Regions from separate parts of the Homo sapiens genome. Here region 2 is linked to region 1. The links are contacts of gene promoters, found by promoter capture Hi-C in blood cells and fetal thymus (Javierre and others, 2016). All regions are on one chromosome and are shown on one strand. Each heading gives the region's core, a stretch centred on a gene start or on the middle of the fragment in contact. The rest is flanking DNA. Distances are from core to core; before and after follow the strand shown. Region 1 holds the start of PARP15 (poly(ADP-ribose) polymerase family member 15). Region 2 overlaps FAM162A (family with sequence similarity 162 member A).

Region 1 (4,790 bases), core at 1,166-3,665:
GTCTCTGTGTGTGTGTGTGCGCGCGTGCATATATATATATATATATATATATATATATATATATACATATAGTTGCTGTTGTTGTTCAGACAGAGTCTTGCTCTGTCACCCAGGCTGGAGTGCAGTGGCGCAATCTCAGCTCACTGCAACCTCTGCCTCCCAGGTTCCAGCAATTCTCCTACCTCAGCCTCTTGAGTAGCTGGGACTACAGGTGTGTGCCACCATGCCTGGCTAATTTTTGTATTTTTAGTAGAGACGAGGTTTCACCATGTTCGCCAGGCTGATCTTGAACTCCTGACCTCAAGTGATCCACCTACCTTGGCCTCCCAAAGTGCTGGGATTACAGGCGTGAGCCACCGCGACCGGCCCTCAATACATAGATTTTAAAGAATTCAAATAATGAAAAATATGTTTTCTGACCACAATGAAATTTAACTATTAATAGAAAGCAGTAGCAAATTAGTGATACCTAAGGCTCCAAAGACTCTCTGCTGAATGATTTCATGTACATGACGTTCTGGAACTACAGGGACCAAAAGATGACCCTAGTGGTTGCCAGGAGCTCATCTTGAGTGAAGAGGTTGAAGACAAAGAAACTGGTAGAAAACTCTTTTATATCTTCATTATACTGGTAAACATTTGTCAAAACTCACAGAAGTATACACTAAAAAGTATGAATTTTCTAAATATAGAAAAGCTGTCTGTAAATTACACCTTAATTTTTAAAATGAAAGAAAACATCAAAGCATACATACACGTAAATAGACAACATAGCGAATGAGTAAACCTCATATATAATATTGAGAAAAAAGAAAAATTGAAATGTTTTATGTGAAGATAACTATAAACCTTCTTTAAAGACACAAAAATAGACTTAAACAATGAAAAGGCATCCTTTGTTTCGCTTCCTTTTCTATGTGCTTCAAAACATTCCTTCATAATGGAGATTTCATTGGTTGTGTCGAGGATCAGTACACAGATATTTCAATTTGTACACTATTCTTAACATACACACACAAAAAAGTTTAAAAAGTCATGTATTGTAATTGTTTTTAAAAGTTATTCTAGTGACTTTCCAGCTTAAAATTTGGAGGCAAATTTTCCTTAAGAGGATATGAAGTACCAGTATCTACAATTGTTGAAAAGCTGTTACATATGTCCCACCAATTCACAATTTAATATCATATACATTACATACTCAAATTTTCAATCTTTCACAGCACAGTAGGTTAGACCATGTCAACACCACCTAAAGATATCAGCTCTCTGTAATTTATTAATTTAATGCAATCCCAATAAAAATTCCAAAGAGCTTTTCTTTTTTTTTTTTAAACTGATCATACATCAGAAAAGTTCATAAGGAAAAATAAACAACAAGAATAGCTAGGAAAATAGTGACAAGGAAGCACTCTCTAGGAAGACTAGCCCTGACATTAAAACATACAGCAAAGCCTCTCTAAAGCAGATGAATAAACGGGTCAATGGATGAAAATAGAAGGTCCAGAAATACCCGAACCACATATGAAAGTCTAGTACATGATAAAGCTGGTATCTCAAGTTACTGGGACAGTGACGACCTTTATAATAAATGGTGTTGGGACACTTGATACCCATTTGAAAAAAAATAATTAGATTCACTCCTCAAACCACACACAATAACACACTCCAAATGTATTATAGATCTAAATGTAAAAAATACATCAGTTCAAGTACTAGAAGCAAGCATGAGTGAACTCTTCTATAACTTGGGTGTAGGGAAGAGTATGACTAAAAGTCATATATTAAAATATGACTAAAAGTCTAGACGTCATAAAATAAAAGACTGGTAAGTCTTGCCACACAAAATTTAAAATATTTGCATGGCAAAGAGAAACAAAAGCCCCCCATAAGCAAACTCAAAAAACAAAAAATAAATTGGGAGGACATATTCATAACACATATCACGAATAAAGGACTCATATCCTTTCAAACTTTATAAAGAACTTTTAAATTTTAAGGGAAAAAAAAAAAAAACCACCAGAAATGCTAAGGAAAAAGAAGCAGCACGCATCCCCCTCTTCCGGAACAGGGAAGTCAGTGTAGTCGGCGCCCCCTAGAAGAGAGGGTTGTGCGTGGCGTGGGGTCTCTGCGCCCGCTCGGGCTGCTGGGTCTTGCGGGCCCCAGGCTCAGCCCTGCTGTCCCCTTCCCGCACCCGTCCCCCGCGCTCCTCACCATACTCCGGGAGGAAGAGCGCCGGGAGGCCTTCCGCGCCCCACGGTTCCCGGCCGGCAGCACGCTCCCCGCCTCCCGATCTCGTCCGGCTCTGGAAGTAACACCTGCAACTCCGTGCATAAGTTCTCTGGGGGTCGGAGCCCCTGGACTCAGAGCAGCGGCAGGAAGGGGGCCTGGCGCAGCCATCCTCAGCTCGCTGGGACTGCAGTTGCGCCCCACCCAACAGGCTTGTGCCTCGAACTTCTTTTCTCTGAAAACCGCTTCCGTCAAAGATTGAGGCCTCGAGTTTGCGAACAGCTGCCTCAGGATTGTGTCGCCCTTTGGGACAGACGTTACTGCCAGACAAATCCTGGGTCAAAATCCTGAGGTCTGCAATTTTATTAGTTATGTAGCCTCAGTCAATAGCATCTGTACAGTGGGCACAGCCATAACTATTTCATGTTATTATAATGAAGATTAAATGAGATAAAGTCTGTAGAATGCCTGGCACATTAAAACACAGGAATCAGTATTCCTTTCCTTTTCTGTTGGGCATCCCACTCCTTTCCCCCCAATTCTCCCTACACACCCATATTTAGAAAAATACACTGGGTTCTCTCCTGTGCTCCCTAAGCCAGGGCTGGAGTCAGGTTCCCCTCTGGCCCAACAGGGCATTATTTAATTCAATCAACGCGTATTGAAGGCCTTTGATATGCCTGGCACTGTGTTAAGATTATAAAGATGAATTAGACACAGATCCCCTCTCTTTGGAGTGAGGGGTGAAGTAGGAGGTGGAGAAATAAAACATAGATTAATACTGTTACCTGGTGTATCACGAAAAGTCCTGGCAGTATACAGATGGTATACTCAAAATTAATAATTGAAGATAATTTAATAAAGAAATTATTTACACAGGTGTGGGCAAAGGGTTAAGGAAACCATTGAGAGATGGTGAAGTAGCCTCCTCCCCTTACCATCTAGGCTGAAGGGGCAAGGGAGGGGGCATCTCCTGAACTTGGTAAGAGCTATACCAAGTGCCAGCAGGTAGAACCCATGACTGCTTTCGGAAGACAGCCAGGGGAGTATAAGCATCCCAAGTACTCTCTCCGTGTGCCTTCCAATCTCGTGCTGGTACCTCCCACTGCAGAACCCAATGAGTAATCAGAGAATGGAGCTGATGTGGTACTTAGAGGTCAGCCCTCAGTACCACCTCCAAGGCAGAGAGCAGGGTAAAAGGTTTTGGTATCGTATTTGCATTGAGATACATATAAAGTATTAGGATAACAGAAATCAGTGGTTCGTTGTAATTTAGAGACAAGATTGGAGAAAAGTTTCTATAGTAGTGGCATTTCAGTAAGACCTTGCATGATGAGTAGGGGACTTTCTAAGAGGAAAATCAGGTGAAGAATGAGAATGAGGTGTGTCTCTCTCTCCCTCTCTCTCTTCAGAGTTCCCTTTTTCATCATCTGTCATGCAGAGAGCAGCGATGGGGGTGGATTACACAGAACAAAGATCACATGAATGAAAGCATAGACTGTGCTTTGGAAAATCTTGTAGTCTGGTGTGACTGAACCCTAGGGACTTGGTGGTGAGGAAGGAGCACAAAGTATGCAAAGTGGCATGAGCAATCGCTAACGGCCATGCTGCTGAGTTTAAACTCTATTTTCTAGGCCAGTGGATCTCTAAATGTAATTCCCAGACCAGCAACATCAGGTTCATTGTGAAGCAGTAACCAGGGTGATAACCCCTAGCACCGCGTTACATTACATCTTACTTTGCCTCACTTCTCTTTTTGTTTGTCCTTGGGCTTGGACCTCCAAAATTATTAATATCTTAATCTTTGCATCAAGCTCTATGTTTTAGATCTGATCAATAAAAATGACCCAATCGATAAAAAAGGAAATAGCACCTAACTTCTGTATGGAAATCAAACCAAAAACAGTACTAAACATTTTTTTTTTTTTTTGAGACAGAGTCTCGCTCTGTTGCCCAGGCTGGAGTGCAGTGGCCTGATCCCAGCCTACTGCAACCTCTGCCTCCTGGGTTCAAGCAATTCTCATGCCTCAGCCTCCGGAATAGCTGGGATTACAGATGTGTACCACCATGCCTGGATAATTTTTGTAAACACTAAACTATTACGGTAAGTGTAAGGAAGTCCAATAAAGATCTTATTTTTCTCCTAATGATTACTTTGATGCTATTTTCAGGGAAGCATCAAATATGTATTATTCTTTTATTTTATTTTTTCTTTGGAGAGAAGGGTGCCCCTGATCTAATAGTGCTCAATGACCTGTCTGGGTACTTCAGCACCAATGTTGGAGAGGTGAAACAGAACCTCAAGAAGCAAGGAGAGGGCAAATATAGTTTGATAGGGTATTGTATATACTCTCTCCAGGAGAGAAGAGATGATATCTGCAGCCTACTTTTATCTTTATAACCTATATGTTATAAGGAAAAAATACTGAGAAATGTGATTTTTACAGCCAAAAGTAACAGCAGTGAAGTCAAGAGTAGTTAAGTTGTACTGTGATCATATTTAGGAAGCAGCTACACACAAAATCAACCAAAGATCTCCATGCACATGTTATACAACTGTATGC
Region 2 (4,790 bases), core at 1,360-3,859, 190 kb after region 1:
CCTGATCTCTCTTGCTCTTGCTCTGGACATGTGACATGCCAGCTCCCCCTTCGCCTTCCACCATGATTGTAAGTTTCCTAAGGCCTCCCTAGAAACTTGACAAATGCCAGTATCATGTTTCCTGTACAGCCTGAAGAACGATGAACCAATTAAACTGCTTTTCTTTATAAATTACCTAGTCGTAGGTATTTCTTTTTAGCAATGCGAGACTGGCCTAACACACCTTCCATTCGTGCTCGGACAGAGACTAAATGTGAGGTGAGAGCTTAGAGACCTCTCAGGTTTTTCCTGGAAAATGTGTCCAACCTTACACATATTACATTCTAGAAATATGTCAGAGCTTTCCAGATGTCAGGATGGACATCTCATTCCCCAGCTTCTTGTTTGACCCAGCTGTTACCCACTCCATGTTATGTCAAACAAGTGCTGCTGATTATTTTCAACAAATGCACCAGGGAAAACACTGTTTGCAGTGAATAAACTCCAAGTCAGGTGAAAAAAGATAAGCCCTGTGAGTGGGGTTTCCAGCGAACTGTCAGACAAGTCAAATAGTAACAATTCTCTGCAGCTGGAAGTTTTGGAAAACTCTTAAACCCATTCTGCCTTCTTCAGTGCCTGCAAGGCTGCTGGTTTTCAAAGTAACTGTGATTTGTGAGGCTGTTGGTTTTCAAGACTATTGTGAAGCTGAAAGAAGACAGGAATAAAGCAAGTTAAAACTCCACAAAACTTGCTGTCCTACCACGATTTCAGGCTTTTTTTTTTGGATAAATGCTCCTCAGATTGTCACAAATGCCTGGTAATTTTCCAGAGTTCTGGAAAAGTTGCTTCTGCCAACTTCTGGCAGTGTTATCATTGCTTTTGGGTAAAAATGGATTTTCAGAGGTCCTTACTCTTGACACACCAGAAGTTGGAATCTCTATTTGTGGTTACCTGGCACACAGTCTTTTTCATAAAAGGCCTCATTTATTTTGTTTTCTAGGGCTATAAATGCCAGAAAGCTTTGCCTGGATCTGGCAAACACAACATCAGTGCCACCTAGTGGAAAGGAGATAAATTAACTGCTTTTAGCTTGTTTCCTCATTTAAAATGTGGATAATGCAGTGTTTCTTGTACCAAAGTTGATTTGAGGGTTAAATGGAAAAGCAAATATGGGAGCATCTGGTAAGATGCTTGAAACACAGCAGGCTCTCTAACTGTTAAGTTTATTTTTTTTTTGAAATATTATGTAAAACATTAACTTTGATAAAACTTCTAGAACACTTTTCAATTTTACCCCTAATGTGGTCAGGATTTCTGACAAAGTTAATTATGCAGTTATGAGGCCATGGGAAAAGTCTATGAAACTCTTCAATAGATTTTCATAGCACTCAGGATTAAGACACAATTATTAAATCCTGTGATCTTCAAATTTTAGTGTTTTAGTGTTTGGTGTGAATCAGAGGAATGCCTTGTTAAAACACAAATCATGAGGCTGTCTACCTCCAGTTTCTGCATCCACAGTTCTGGAATGGAGGCTGGGAATTCGCATTTCTAACAAGTTCCTAGGTGATGCTGCTATGCTGGTTCTGGACTATACTTTGAGAACCTAGGCTTTTCTCTCCCCTAAGATGTGGTTAAATATACATAACATAAAATTTACCATTTTAATTATTTTAAGTGTACAATTCAGTGGCATTAAGTACATTTACACTGCTGTGCAACTATTACTACTATCCATCTCCAGGACTTTTTCATCTCCCCAGAGAACCACTGGTTTAATGTGACCTACAAGGCCCCATCTCACACAATGCTATCCCATTCCTCCTTTGGCAGGCACTTACAAAAGGAACAAGGTTAACCGGCAGCAAGCTAGAAGGACTCTGCTCTTTAAACAGAAAAAGAATCAATAATTATTTCCTAAGACAGCTGTCCTTTCCCATTCCTCCTAATTATAGAACAAAGGCAGTTTAGGAGAACAGAAGACAAACTGCCTCTCAGCTAGCTCAGTTTGAGAAATAATAAAGCAAAAAATGCTAACATGTATACCTACTATCAGTGACATCGATGTATGTTGGAGTAATTCATTCAACAAAGTACTTCCTATGTGCCAGGCATTGTTTTAGGCAATATATAAAAAAGATAAAAATCTGTGCCAATAGAACTTGCATTCTACTGGGGAGAAAGTTATACATATGTTAGATACTAAGTGCCAGAGAGAAAAAAATAAACAATGGGGACATGAAGTATGTGTTTGGAATGGGCTGTGTATGAAATTTTACATAGAGTAGTTAGGAAGTCCTCTGTGAGAATGTCACTCTTGAAGGGAAGCAAGGGCTAGCTATGCAGCTATCTGGTGGAAGAATATTCCAAACAGAAAGAATTATAAATGCAAAGACCCTAAAAGATTCTAGAGCCCATAAAGAGAAGGCCAGTATGGCCAGAACAGAATGAATAATGGGAAGACAAGTAGAATTTGATGTGAGAGAGGTACTGAGGTAGTTATGGAGGGTAAGGACTTGGAGACATGAGAGGTTCACCTAGATCAGACTGTATCTCCCAACTTTTTCTTACTACAACTTCATATTGTATGCTAATAACTTTTACCTCCCTACAGTATAAATGCTGATTAAAACATACACACATATTATCTTATTATAGATATTAGAATAATAGACTAATGTAAATATATTTTTTTAAAGATGAGGTCTTGCTTTAAAAATATTTTTAAAAATGTTATCACTACATAGTGAAACCCCACCTCTACAAAAAATACAAAAACTAGCTGGGCGCAGTGGCATGTGCCTGTGGTCCCAGCTACTCAGGAGGCTGAGGCAGAAGGGTGGCTTGAGCCCTGGAGGCAGAGGTTGCAGAGAGCTGAGATCATGCCACTGCACTTCAGCCTGGGCGATAATGCCAGACCTTCTCTCAAAAATAAAATAAAATAAAATTTTAAATTTTAAAAAGTTATCGCTAAAAAATGTCTGAAGTATTTGATGTGGTCTTGGTTTTTATTTTGCAATTATAACAACATGAAAGCATAAACAAACTTTAATATCATTACTAAGACCTTCGTTTTCTCTCAAAGAGACAGAATATATTGACCAGACGTCCAAGCCAGAAATTTTCCATCCTCTGGTGGATCACGATTAAAAACATACAAACCAAAAGAAAAACAGCCCTTTAACCCTCTAGCTGGACTTAACAGCTTGTCCCTGGCTGACCAATTCTGTGTCTCCAGGGCCCTAGCAGGAAGTTAAGATGAAGCCTCACAGCTGTCTCTAAGGCTCTGGGTGGCAAACGGCTAATCTTAAGAGTAAAGGTTCTTAACTTTTTTATCTATCGAAATCACCTGGGGGACCCTGTGAAACAGATTACTGGACCCAACTGATACAGTCAGTATGGACAGAACCTGAGAATGTGCACTTCTAACAATTGCCCAGGTAATGGTGAAACTTCTGCTATGGGGGACCCATAATCTGAAAACCAGTGCCTTAGAAATATCATTGCTAGCTGGAGGCTATAGTGGTCAGCCAGGGTGAGGCTGGTTGAAGTACCAGCTTCTCTCCTGGTAGTCCCCTCCTTTCCATAAATATCCTTTCCAACCCCATGATAGACAGTGAGGAAAGGTAGGGATGCTTTTTCTTTCTCAGAATCTTTCAAGGTCCTCTTGGAGAAAACCATAGGTGATGTGACTGGAGATATGACAACTCTCTGGGAATCAGAGAATCAATATTACAACCCACTCCCCAGAGTGTCTATCTGAAACTCTCTAGGCCTTAGCTGTTGACCTGGGCTTTGTGACAGAAACAGACTCCCTATATCCGTTTTCTCATCCTTCCCTGCAGGCTTGAAGAAATACCAGTCTTCCTTTATTCTTAAGTAGTAATCCCTCTGCTGAGGGATGTCGTACCAAACTTATCCTTATTTTCCACTGCCTTTTTCCTGCCAAATGTTATCTCCCCCATCTTTAAAATCAAAACTAAAAAACTTATTTTTTTTTTTAGAGACAAGGTCTCACTTTGTCACCTAGGGTAAAGGGCAGTGGAGAGATCATAGCTCACTGTAACTTTGAACCGGGCTCAAGCGATCCTCCTGTATCATCTTCTGGAGTAGTTGGGACCACAGGCAGATGCCACCATGTCTAGCTAATTAAAAAAATTTGTTTTGTAGAGATCGGGTCTCACTATGTAAAAACCTTTGTACCACCAAGTTGTTACACACCATGTTATGTAAAAAGCTTTTAGTAAAACAAACTTTAAATGATAAAAGTAACACTTGCTCATTACAGAAAATTTGGAAGTTAAAAAAAGATGTGAAGAAAAATAAAAGCACTCATAATCATAGCACTTAGGGATAACAACTTGGTGCATTAATATTTCTTTTCAGACCTTTCCTATACTTACATAAAACATATACATTTTTCATAATCAGATAATACTGTATCTTGCTATGTCACAAATACTTTCCAAGATATTAATACTTTTAATAGCTGTATAAAACCCGACACACAGCTATAATCTGAATGTAGTAATTCCCTACAACTTGATTTCTTTCCAATTTTTCAGTGTTATAAGTAATGTTTCAATGAACAGTTCTCTACATACATCTTTGATGGTATTTCTGATTATTTCCTTAGAATAAAATCCTGGAAGTGAAGGGTAAAAGGGTATGAACCCCTTTAAGTTTCCATCTATCTATCTCATCTATCTATCTATCTATCTATCTATCTATCTATCTATCTATCTATCTATCTATCCATCTATACTACTTTCCAGAAAGGCTGACTACTTCTCCAGTAACTTCTACTAGTA

Evidence for each region. Contacts are between HindIII fragments. The CHiCAGO score rates a contact against its expected background, and 5 or more counts as called.
Region 2: a contact is called between a fragment that was not itself captured here and the fragment with the promoter of PARP15 in region 1, in 1 of 17 cell types (activated CD4 T cells). The highest score is 5.2, in activated CD4 T cells.

The regions. Positions count from the first base shown.
Region 1 is chr3:122,575,275-122,580,064 of GRCh38, reverse strand. It overlaps PARP15 (poly(ADP-ribose) polymerase family member 15), which reads right to left and starts at 2,415. Exons shown (of 12, transcript NM_001113523.3): 1 at 2,212-2,415. The coding sequence starts at 2,397. RefSeq lists a silencer at 2,059-2,108 and enhancers at 2,169-2,448, 3,983-4,032. The HindIII fragment of the contact is 6,929 bases long and covers 1-4,790 here.
Region 2 is chr3:122,389,327-122,394,116 of GRCh38, reverse strand. The region is part of intron 1 of FAM162A (family with sequence similarity 162 member A); the gene reads right to left. Among named protein-coding and RNA genes, the nearest start is that of FAM162A, 7.5 kb to the right of the region's middle. The HindIII fragment of the contact is 3,218 bases long and covers 1,001-4,218 here.